4 separate regions of the Homo sapiens genome follow, and all the other regions are linked to region 2. The links are contacts of gene promoters, found by promoter capture Hi-C in blood cells and fetal thymus (Javierre and others, 2016). All regions are on one chromosome and are shown on one strand. Each heading gives the region's core, a stretch centred on a gene start or on the middle of the fragment in contact. The rest is flanking DNA. Distances are from core to core; before and after follow the strand shown. Region 1 has its middle 8.2 kb from the start of PCDHA1. Region 2 holds the start of PCDHGB1 (protocadherin gamma subfamily B, 1). Region 3 overlaps LOC105378198 (a long non-coding RNA gene). Region 4 overlaps LOC105378198 (a long non-coding RNA gene).

What was found. Contacts are between HindIII fragments. The CHiCAGO score rates a contact against its expected background, and 5 or more counts as called.
Region 1: a fragment that was not itself captured here is called in contact with the fragment with the promoter of PCDHGB1 in region 2 in 5 of 17 cell types (M1 macrophages, M2 macrophages, erythroblasts and 2 more); the score reaches 14.0 in M1 macrophages.
Region 3: a contact is called between a fragment that was not itself captured here and the fragment with the promoter of PCDHGB1 in region 2, in 4 of 17 cell types (M2 macrophages, M1 macrophages, erythroblasts and 1 more). The highest score is 9.4, in M2 macrophages.
Region 4: a contact is called between a fragment that was not itself captured here and the fragment with the promoter of PCDHGB1 in region 2, in 4 of 17 cell types (M1 macrophages, M0 macrophages, M2 macrophages and 1 more). The highest score is 10.7, in M1 macrophages.

Annotation. Positions count from the first base shown.
Region 1 is chr5:140,776,476-140,779,307 of GRCh38, reverse strand. No RefSeq gene overlaps it. Among named protein-coding and RNA genes, the nearest start is that of PCDHA1, 8.2 kb to the left of the region's middle. The HindIII fragment of the contact is 642 bases long and covers 1,243-1,884 here.
Region 2 is chr5:141,348,825-141,351,524 of GRCh38, reverse strand. It overlaps PCDHGB1 (protocadherin gamma subfamily B, 1), which reads right to left and starts at 1,426. Exons shown (of 4, transcript NM_018922.3): 1 at 1-1,426. The coding sequence starts at 1,264. All of the region lies in intron 1 of PCDHGA1 (protocadherin gamma subfamily A, 1), which reads right to left. The region is part of intron 1 of PCDHGA2 (protocadherin gamma subfamily A, 2); the gene reads right to left. The region is part of intron 1 of PCDHGA3 (protocadherin gamma subfamily A, 3); the gene reads right to left. It also overlaps PCDHG@. The HindIII fragment of the contact is 7,439 bases long and covers 1-2,700 here.
Region 3 is chr5:140,753,493-140,756,192 of GRCh38, reverse strand. The region is part of intron 3 of LOC105378198 (a long non-coding RNA gene); the gene reads right to left. Among named protein-coding and RNA genes, the nearest start is that of PCDHA1, 31 kb to the left of the region's middle. The HindIII fragment of the contact is 5,694 bases long and covers 1-2,700 here.
Region 4 is chr5:140,735,692-140,738,458 of GRCh38, reverse strand. All of the region lies in intron 3 of LOC105378198 (a long non-coding RNA gene), which reads right to left. Among named protein-coding and RNA genes, the nearest start is that of ZMAT2, 37 kb to the right of the region's middle. The HindIII fragment of the contact is 5,793 bases long and covers 1-2,767 here.

The DNA.
Region 1 (2,832 bases), core at 314-2,813, 570 kb after region 2:
GAGATCACACCACTGCACTCCAGTCCGGATGACAGAGTGAGACCCTGTCTCAAAAAAAAAGAGAGAGAGAGAGAGAGGAAAATTATAAATGATAAGGAGTCAATCCACCAAAAAGACATGGCAACCCTAAATGTGTATGCACCAAACAACAGAGCTGTGAAACAAAATCTCATAGAACTAAAAGGAGAAACAGATAAATCCACAATTATAATTGGAGACTTCAACAATTCTCTCTCAACAAATAACAGAACAACTAAAAAGAAAATCAGCAAGAATATAGAAGAACTCAGTAACATCACTAACCAATGGAAACTAATTGACATTTATAGAACACACTATTCAACAATCACGGGCTGAGCACAGTGGCTCACACCTGTAATCCCAGCACTTTGAGACACTGAGGCAAGCAGATCACTTGAGGTCAGGAGTTCGAGATCAGCCTGGCCAACATGGTGAAACCCTGTCTCTACTAAAAATACAAAAATTAGCCAGGTGTGGTGGTGCATGCCTGTAGTCCCAGCTGCTTGGGAGGCTGAGGCAGGAGAATCACTTGAGCCCGGGAGGTGGAGGTTGCAGTGAGCCAAGAGCCAAGATCATGCCACTGCACTCCAGCCTGGGCAACAGAGTGAGACTCTGTCTCAAAAAAAAAAAAGAGAGAGAGAGAGAGAGACTCCATCATCTCAAAAAAAAAAAATTTCAAAATACACTCTTCCAAGTGCCAGTGAAACATATCTCAAAACACATCTTGCCCTGAGTCATAAAACAAGCCTCAGTAAATGTAAAAGACATGAAATCATACAGAGTGTGTTCTGTGACCACAATGGAATCAAAGGAGAAATCAATAACATAAAGATAAAAGAAAAATATTCTAACACTTGGATGTTAACGTATCTCTAAATAATCCATGGGCCAAAGACGATGTCTCAAAGGAATAAAAAAAAATACATGGTATGAGGTAAAAAAAATTTAATTTAAAAAATAACACCAATACTAATCTCTCCCAGAAAATACAAGAGGTCTTCAAAAAGTTCATGAAAAATGCGTACTATGAAAAAATATGCATGAATTTAAATAAAGTTTGCATCATAATAAACTTGTATTAACTTGTTATAACATGTCTGAGCAGGATCTAGTTTAAGCCACAAAGAAGGATAGGACTTCCGTTTGAAAAGACTCCCGATTAGAGCAACATGAATTCACTAAAATTGAAGCAAGAACAAACATCAGATTTATGGTGAAGCTTGGGTGGAAGAATAATGAAATCATTGACACTTTATGAAAAGTTTATGAGGACAATGCCTCAAAGAAATAAGTAGTGTACAAATGAATAACTTGTTTTAAGAAGGGATAAGATGATGTTGGAGATAAAGCCTGTAGTGACAGGCTATCCATATCATTTTATAAGAAACAAATTAGTCCTGTTCATACCGTAATTGAACAGGGCCAATGATTAACAGCAGATACACTAGGAAATACCATAGACATCCCAGATGGTTCAGCTTACACAATTCTGACTAAAAAATTAAAGTTGAGCAAATTTCTGCTCAATGGGTGCCAAATTGCACCCAGATCAGCTGCAGATAAGAGCTGAGTTTCCATGGAAATTTTAAACAATGGGATCAAGATTCTGAATACTTTCTTTGGAGAATTGTAACGGGAGATGAAACATGGCTTTAGCAGTATGATCTTGAAGACAAAGCACAATCAAAGCAATGCTATCAAGAGGTGTAAATTGTCTAGTCAAAGTAAAAGCTGGCTGGTCAAAAGCAAAGGTCCCAACACACACAAAAAGCAAAGGTCATGACAACAGGTTTTGCAGATCTTAAAGGTATTTTGCTTGTTGACTTTCTGGAGGGCCAGAGAACGTTTTAAGAAAGCCAAGCTTTAGCAGAAAAATAACCAGGAAAGCTTTACTATAGAGTTCTTCTCCACCACAACAACGCTCATGTTCATTCCTCTCAACAAGGGCAATTTCACAAGAATTCTGACATGTAAAATCACTGGGCATCCACCATACAGTCCCAGTTTGGTTATTTCTTTTTTTTCTTTTTCTTTTTTTTCGAGACAGGGTCTCACTCTGTCGCCCAGGCTGGAGTGCAGTGGCACGATCTTGGCTCACCGCAACCTCCACCTCCCAGGTTCATGTGATTCTCCTGCTTCAGCCTCCTGAGTAGCTGGGATTACAGGTGTGTGCCATCTTGCCCAGGTAATTTTTATATTTTAATAGAGATGGGTTTTCACCACGTTGGCCAGGCTGGTCTCAAACTCCTGACCTCAAGTGATCCACCTGCCTCTGCTTCCCACAGTTCTGGGATTACAAGTGTGGGCCACCATGCCCTGCCCCAGTGTGATTATTTCTGACTTTTCTTTATTTCCCAATCTTAAAAAATCTTTAAAGAGCATCCATTTTCCTTCAGTTAATAATGTAAACAATTCTTCATTGACATGGTTAAATTCTTAGGACCATCAGCTCTTTAGAGACGGACTAAATGGCTGGTATCATCCCTTATAAAAATGTCTTGAGCTTGGCGGGACCAAGATGGCTAACTAGAAGCAGCAGCAGTTAGAGGCTCCAATTGAGAAGAAACAAAACAGCATGTCAATCCTGCACTGGCAATCGAGGTATCCAGGTTTTATCATCAGGACTGACTAGGCAGTTGGTGTGACCCATAAAGAGCAAGAAAAAGCAGGGTGCTGCGTCGGCCCACATGGAGAAAGGGCAAACCCCACCCCCAACCAAGGAAGGTGGTGAATGAGTATGCTATCTTGCCTGGGAAACCGTGCTTTTTCCACAGATCTGCGCAACCCACAGATCGGAAGATTCCACTCGTG
Region 2 (2,700 bases), core at 177-2,676:
CGGTGGCTATGATTGTGACGTTGTAGTCTGCTGTCTGCTCCCGGTTTAGGGCTCCAGCAATCACCAGCTTGTAATAATTCTTCGAGGTGGATTCTAATTTGAAAGGAACTTCTTCCTGAGTATAGCATGTCACCATGCCATTTTGCCCAGAATCCTTGTCTCGCACTTTTATGAGGGCTATTACAGTTCCAAGGTCTGAATCCTCTGGAATCTGGTTAGAGAAGGACATGAATGTCACCTCTGGGGCATTGTCATTCTCGTCAACAATTTCTATTTGAACATTACAGTGAGCTGTGTGTACTCCTCCATCCTTAGCTTCCACACTCAACACATATCTACTTGTCTCTTCAAAATCCAATGTGCCATTGGTTGTGATGTCGCCAGTATTTGGATTGAGATTGAAGAGGCTGGTACTTATTGGGGAATTGAGGAAGGCATAGGTGATCTCTGCATTAATGCCCTCATCCTGGTCTGTGGCCATCACCCGCAGCACGGAGGTTCCCCACGGTACGTTTTCTTGGAGGCTAACCCTGTATACCTCCTGGCTAAACACGGGAGCATTATCATTGGCATCCGTAACTCGGATCCAGATATGGGTGGTGCCGCTTAGAGGCGGGTCCCCGCCATCCATGGCAGTCAGGATTAAGCGATGAGAGCTCTGATGTTCCCTGTCTAGAGGTTTTTCCAGCAGTAATACCGGATATTTACTTCCATCAGGACTTTCCTTCGTTGACAGAGAGAAGTATTGATTGGGGTTGATGGTGTATAACTTCAGTGAATTGCCTTCCACATCTGCATCTTGAGCAGAATCCAGAGAGAATTTTACCCCGGGTAAGGCTGACTCACAAATTTCTAAGTCAATGCCTTTTGCAACGAAACGTGGTGCATTGTCATTAATATCTTGGATTACAACAACCACGTGGAAAACATTCATTGGGTTTTCAGCGACCGTTTCGAATTCTAGTGCACACTCAAGTTTCCTTCCGCAAATCTTCTCTCGATCTATCCTACCGTTCACTAACAAATCCCCGCTCTCCAAACTAACGTTGAAATAATCCTCTGCACTAACCCGCAGTTTTCGAGTTGGCAACTCCCGGACACTGAGCCCCAGATCCTTGGCAAGTTTCCCCACCCGTGAGCCGTTGGCTAGCTCCTCTGGAATCGTGTATCGGATCTGCTGGGAGATGGCCCCGCAGAACAAAGACAGCAGGAAGGGAAACAGTACCTGACTTTTCATCATTTCGGCTTCTCTGGCTCTCTGCATTTCAGGAACTCTCCGCGGAGCTTCTTTCCTCTGGGATGTTTTTCAAAAAGAAATGGCAGCACCCTGGACTTCTGTGATTTGAGCTTAGGACTTATTAGTTAGGCGCTCGAGGGTGAACAGGAGCAGCGTCTGTGCTCAGTGCACCGGACAAAGCAGGAAGGCACCCTGCCTGACGCTCCTGCAGAATTGAGAAGCCTTCACTTCCTTTTGGTCGACAGCGGCGCCCAGAGGTTGTCTTGGAAAACTGCACAGGGCCCAGCTTTTTATCCTCAAAGCGCAACCTCTTGAATCTATGTACCCTGTCTTTAATTTGCTGGAGGGAAACACATACTCACATTTTCCCCTTTACATTTCAGTTTTCTAGTTTGTCATCATCAGATAAGGGCCTTCATCATTTCGTATTCTTTTTTCATTTAAAAAATTCACAAGGTACACTGCCATTTTTTTCAGTTTTGGGGGTAAAAAAAAATCTTCAGTGATTTCACTATATTTATAAACTCTGGCATGACTGCTGTATCCAAATAAGTGAATTGATAATTTTTATTTATATTTTTAGTTGACTAAAATACCTACCTTTCTGTAAATTCATTGGAATAAGCTCCCTTATCTAGTATTTTAAATCTCTCCATATATATGTTATCAATTCAGTAATACTTTTCAAAAATAGTTTTTGCAAAAAAGAGGAAATCACAGCCTTACTATTATGTTATTTCTCTTCTTTATAAAATATAGATAATCTTTCCAGTTAAGTAGGACAAAGTCTGATATTTTGTTAAAAGGGCCAATTTAGTGTTGGGGTACACATACATGCTTTTATGAAGTGGAATCTCATATAATGTACATTTGTTTTATGAAACCAGTGCTTCTTTTTTATATGAATGTATATTAAATACTCTAGGCTGGGTGCAGTGACCTGTGATCCCAGCACTTTGGGAGGCCAAGGTGGGAAGAACACATGAGGTCAGGAGTTTGAGACTAGCCTGTCCAACATGGTGCAAGCCATCTCTACTAAAAAAAATAAAAATTATCCAGGCATGGTGGCGGGTACCTGTAACGCCAGCTACTCGGGAGGTTGAGGCAGCAGAATCACTTAACTCAGGAGGCAGAGGTTGCAGTGAGTTGAGATCATGCCACTGAAGTCCATCCTGGGTGACAGAGCAAGACTCTGTCTCAAAAACATTCTCTATAATGCCAATTCTCAGCTCCAGCCGACTTATACCATTAATGAGCAAAACGAGTTTGACTTGACCACTGGTAAATATTGGAGAGGTATTCAGAGTTCTTAGACACCCAATTTTGGAACTTATTCTGTAGTTCCAGGCTTAGAACCAGTCTTGGTTCAAAGCAAATCCCTTTATTTCAAATGCATTACCAAATGAGATCCAACTCAACAATTTATTCTACTATTTTGCAGTGCTCACCCATACTCATACTCT
Region 3 (2,700 bases), core at 139-2,638, 600 kb after region 2:
TCAGCCTGGGCGACAGAGCAAGACTCTGTCTCAAAAAAAAAAAAAAAAAAGAATTTCCATGCAAATGGAGACTGTAAGAGAGCAAGAATAGCTGTACTTACATCAGATAAAATAAACTTTAAGTCAAAAACTCTAAAAAGAGACAATGAAAGTCATTATATAATAATAAAAGTTCAATTCAGCAAGAGGATATAACAATTGTAAATACAAAAGCATCCAATATTGGAACACCTAAATATATAAAGCGAATATTAATAGATCTAAAGGGAGAACAAGACTGCAATACAATGATATTAGGGGGATTTGCTATCCATTTTCAGCAATGGACAGGTCATCCAGACAGAAAATCAACAAAGAAACTTCAGATTTAAACTGCACTGTAGACCAAATGGACCTAGCAGACATTTACAGAACATTCCATCCAACAGCTGCAGAATACACATTCTTCTCAACTGTACATAAAATATTTAACAGAATAGATAATATGTTAGGCCACAAAACAAGCCTTGACAAATTTTAGATTGAAATCATATCAATTGTCTCTTCTGACCACAATGATATAAAACTAAAAATCAATAACAGAAGGAACTTCAGAAACTTTATACATTCATAGAGAGTAAATATGCTCCTGAAAAACCAATGAGTCAATGAAGAAATTAAAAGACATTTAAATATCCCTTTTGGACAAATAGAAATGGAAACACAATGCACCAAAACTTATGGGATACAGCAAAAGCAGTTCTCAGAGAAAAGTTTATAGCTATAAACACCTACATTCAAAAAGAAGAAAGGTTTCAAATAAAGAATCCAACATTATACCTCAAGGAACTGGAAATACAAGAACAAACTAAATCTAAAATTAGGAGAAGGAAGTAATAAAGGTCATAATTTAGGTGAGATGAGGTGGCTCACGCCTGTAATCCCAGCACTTTGGGAGGCTGAGGTATATGGATGACTTGAGCACAGGAGTTCAAGACCAGCCTGGGCAACATGGTGAAACACCATCTCTTCCAAAAATGAAAAAAAAAAATAGCCAGGCGTGGTGGCAGGTGCCTGTGGTTTCAGCTGCTCAAGAGGCTGAGGTGGGAGGAACTCTTGAGCCTGGGTAGTAGACGTTGCAGTGAGCCAACATCACACCACTGCATTCCAGCCTGGGTGACAGAGTGAGGCCTCGTCTAAAAAATATCAGCATATAAATAAATGAAATAGAGGCTTGAAAAAAATACAAAAGAGCAACAAAATTAAGAGTTGGTGTTTTGAGAAAAAATAAAACCAGCCAACAGTTAGCTAAACTACCTAAGGAAAATAGAGAGAAGACAAACAAAACAATAATGAAAAAGGAGACATTATAACTGATACCACAGAAATAAAAAGGATCATAAGACATTATTATACAATTTTACACCAACAAATGGAATAACCTAGAAGAAACAGATAAATTCCTGGACACATACAACCTACTAAGATTGAATTATGAAGTTATAAAAAAATTTCAAGAGACCAATAATGAGTAAGGACATCGAATCAGTAATAAAAAGTCTCCCATCAAAGAAAAGCCCAATACCTGGTAGTTTCACTACTGAATTCTACCAACATTTAAAGAAGAATAAAAACCGGGCGCGGCGGCTCATGCCTGTAATCCCAGCACTTTGGGAGTCCAAGGCGGGTGGATCACGAGGTCAGGAAATCGAGACCATCCTGGCTAACACGGTGAGATCCCGTCTCTACTAAAAATACAAAAAATTAGCCGGGCGTGATGGCGGGCGCCTGTAGTCCCCGCTACTCGGGAGGCTGAGGCAGGAGAACGGCGTGAACCTGGGAGGCTGAGCTTGCAGTGAGCCGAGATCGCACCACTGCACTCCAGCCTGGGAGATAGTGCAAGACTCTGTCCCAAAAAAAAAAAAAAAAAAAAAGAAGAAGAATACCAATTATTCTCAAAATATTTCAAAATACTAAAGAGGAGAGAATACATTCAAACTCATTCTGCGAGGCCAGCATTACTCCGATATCAAACCTGAAAAAAAGCCCCCAATTACTCCAGGGGAAGGAGCAAGTTGAACTGGAAAGGAGCAACCTGCCCTCACCACATGCCTCTGGAATCTGGGCAGGAGGAGACCCCTCAACCACCATGGACACTTGAGTTGGCAGGGAGAGCTGCTTAGAGAAGTGGTAGGGGAAGCACTCCAGCTGGTGCAGAGCCCAGAGGGTTTGTTGTGGTAATGTCTGTAGTGAAGCATAATCAGGGATGCCCATCCCCCTAGGCTTGATTTGCTCCCATAAGAGACTTTAGCCCTAGGGGAACTGTTGGACATGAGCTCTCAGGGCAGTCTTGCCCACCAAATGAGGCCAGTCTGACGTGAGCACCCCTTTGCCTGCTGACCTCTCGCAGGGCCCCAGCCTGGCTGCACCTGCTTGCAATGCAGCCTCGAGTGCCCTCGGGGGGCTGCATCATAGCTCCTGCGCTGGCAGACTGCACCAGCCCACCCACTCCCTCCCCTCACTCCAGGCCCACAACCACCCCTATATTGCTGGAGTATATGTGCATGGGTGGATTTTACCTTCCCTGTCCTACCAGCATGTGTGTGCCCATGAACCCTCTGCTGCCACTGCTGCTGGGGTAAGTGCAGTCCACTCCACCACCTCCCCCATCATACTTCCACTGTAGTCAGAGTGCAGCCCAGCCACCACCAGCACCCTGCC
Region 4 (2,767 bases), core at 257-2,756, 610 kb after region 2:
GAGACTCTGTCTCAAAAAAAAAAAAAAAGAGAGAGAGAGAGAAAGAAAGAAATATATTCAGAGGAATCCTATGAAGAAATAGAAAGTAAAACATCTAGTATTTCATCATTAATAGGTAATCATAGAGAAGAATAAAAAGAAGAATAAGGAAGGATATGAGGAGAATTGTTACTAAAGGAAATCTATGTTGTATTTTACTAATTGTTCATTTTGGGGCTTTTTTATTTTTATTTTTTTGTAGAGACGAGGTCTCACTATGTCACCCAAGATGGTCTCAAACTTCTGGCCTCAAGTGATCCTCCTACCTCGGCCTCCCAAAATGCTGGGATTATAGGTGTGAGCCACTGCACCTGGCCTCCTGTTCATTTGGATTTTCACTTCTCTGTTTTATTCTTCGTGCCTTCATCTTACTTTAATATTTTCTAAAATTCTATTTTGAGTTAATACTATGTTTTTTAGTGCATCTCTTTGTATAACATGTTAGCGGTTGCTCTGTCCACAACTTATCAAAGTCTATTCATTTTTTTCCGTCTAATTTCTCTCTGTTGTTTAGGTTGGATAATTTTTATTATTCTATCTTCTAGTTCACTTGTTATTTTTTCTGCCTCCTCCATTATGCTGCTGAACCCACCCACCCCATCCACTGAGGTTTTTATTTCAGTTATTATATTTTTCAGTTCTAAAATTTCCATTTAGTTCTTCTTTTATCATCTATTTCTTTGCTTATGCATTCTATTTTTCATTTATTCCAAGAATGTTTATAATTGCTTATTGAAGCATTTTTACAATGGCTAATTTAAAATTTCTGTCAGATAATTCTAATATCTCTGTCATCACAATGTTGGCATCTGTTGATTGTCATTTTTTCATTCTGTTTGAGATCTTCTGGTATGATAAGTAACTTTTCATTAAAACCTGGATATGTTCATATTATATTCCGCTACTCTGGATCCTATTTAAACCTTCTGTTTTAGTGGGATTTCTCTGATACCATTTAGGCAGAAGGGGGAACAGAGAAAGAAGGAGATGTCACCTAATTACTGCCAGGTGCAGGCAGAAGTCCAGGTTCCCCACAGAGCCTCCATTGCCACCTGAAGAAGGGAGCTCATTGTTACTGCTGGGTAAGCATGGAAGTTCTGGCTCCCCTGACACCACAGTGAGGATGGCCACATTACCACTGGGTAGAGGTCTAAGTCCAGTCTTCTCATATAATCCCCCCTGCTGGGAAGGGAAGTATTAACAAAAGATCATGAGATTTGAGGAAGAAGAAAAAAGAGAGTTTTATTTCCTATAAATGGTTACAATCTGCAGGTTGGGAAATGAAACATCCAGCCAAAATGAAAAGCATCTGCTTCAGAGACAAAAGGGAGAAGCTGGGACTTATGCCCAACAAGATGAGCTATATGTACATATTCAGTAGCTTATAGGAGAATCTATGAATATTTGAGAAAACCCTAATGCATGCAAAGAGAATAAACATATATGTTACATATGTTCCATGTTCATTTTGGGGTGGGGATTTAATAGTAAAGTGAAGTGGCACGTGGCTGTTTATATATAACAAGGTGAAACAGAACACAAAGGCATCTTGTGCACAGCCTCTGTGGACTAGGTGCAATCAGTCTGTGGTCGGTGGTCAGTATAACAATGGAATGTTTAATAAGGCTGGTCAGTAGTCATGGTGAAACCACGATAAAAGAGGGGAGGTCAGCCATGACATCAAGAGGTCTCTTGAGGTTGAGGGAGAAATCTTCCAGACAGTTTTTTAGGAACTCGTTTCTGTTTAATTGTAGGAAGGAAAGTTTTGAGGCAGTTAACAAGGTAGGGGAGTGTTGAGGTGTGACTGACCTCTTGCCTTGCCAAAGCCATAGAATGCAGTTTTCAAAGTTTCTGGGGTCTCTTTTGCAACAAGAAGTCCATTCTGTTTCACCTAGGGGCTTAGGGACTTTAGTTTTATTTCACACTTTCCAGCTTTAGGCTGAAATCTGCCATAGGCAGCATTGATGGCTAAATTTTCTAACATGTCCCATGTCGTTCCCAGGATGGTGTGGATACCTGCCCCAGGTCTATCTAGTCTGTCAGTGGGACTCATGTGGCTAGGAGACTTACAACCAGTTGAATATTTTAGGCCAGGCAAGAAGGAGGCAGACAGCTATTAAGACCCTTTGAACCTTTGAGACTAGAAAAACAGTAACAACAGAAAAGTTGAGAAGGTAAGTTTATGTTTATGTTGTCTGTCATTTCTATGCATTGTGCTACCATAACTTTGGTTTTAGTGACAGACTTGAAGTAGTTGGTTATAGATCTTATAAGTACTTTGACTATCAAAAATAGGAACAAGATAGTGATATGATAATGACAAGGGTTTGTAAGATGGATTGGAAGTAATTTCTAATACTGCAATGAGTCAGCTAAAAACGTTATTAAGGGGATCTGTGGTTTGTACCTCCTGTAACCAGGCAGCCTGTTGGGTGATCTTACCTACATGGGTTGTTAAATCTCCTATAATGTTGATATAAGTGCAACAAGTGGTGTGGGCTATCATGCAAATTCCCCCTTGTTTAGCAATGAGAAAACCTGGTGCAATTTGATTGTCTAAAACCACTTGAGCGAGAGAATTTAAGGACTTCTACTGTGTCATAATACTTATTGCAGCATTTTCAGCAATTTGTCCTATGGTGGCCGGCATTTTTTTTTATCGTATCTCTGTTAGTGTATACTCCGTAGCTGAGAAAAATTACACCCCAAAAACTATGCTACCACATAT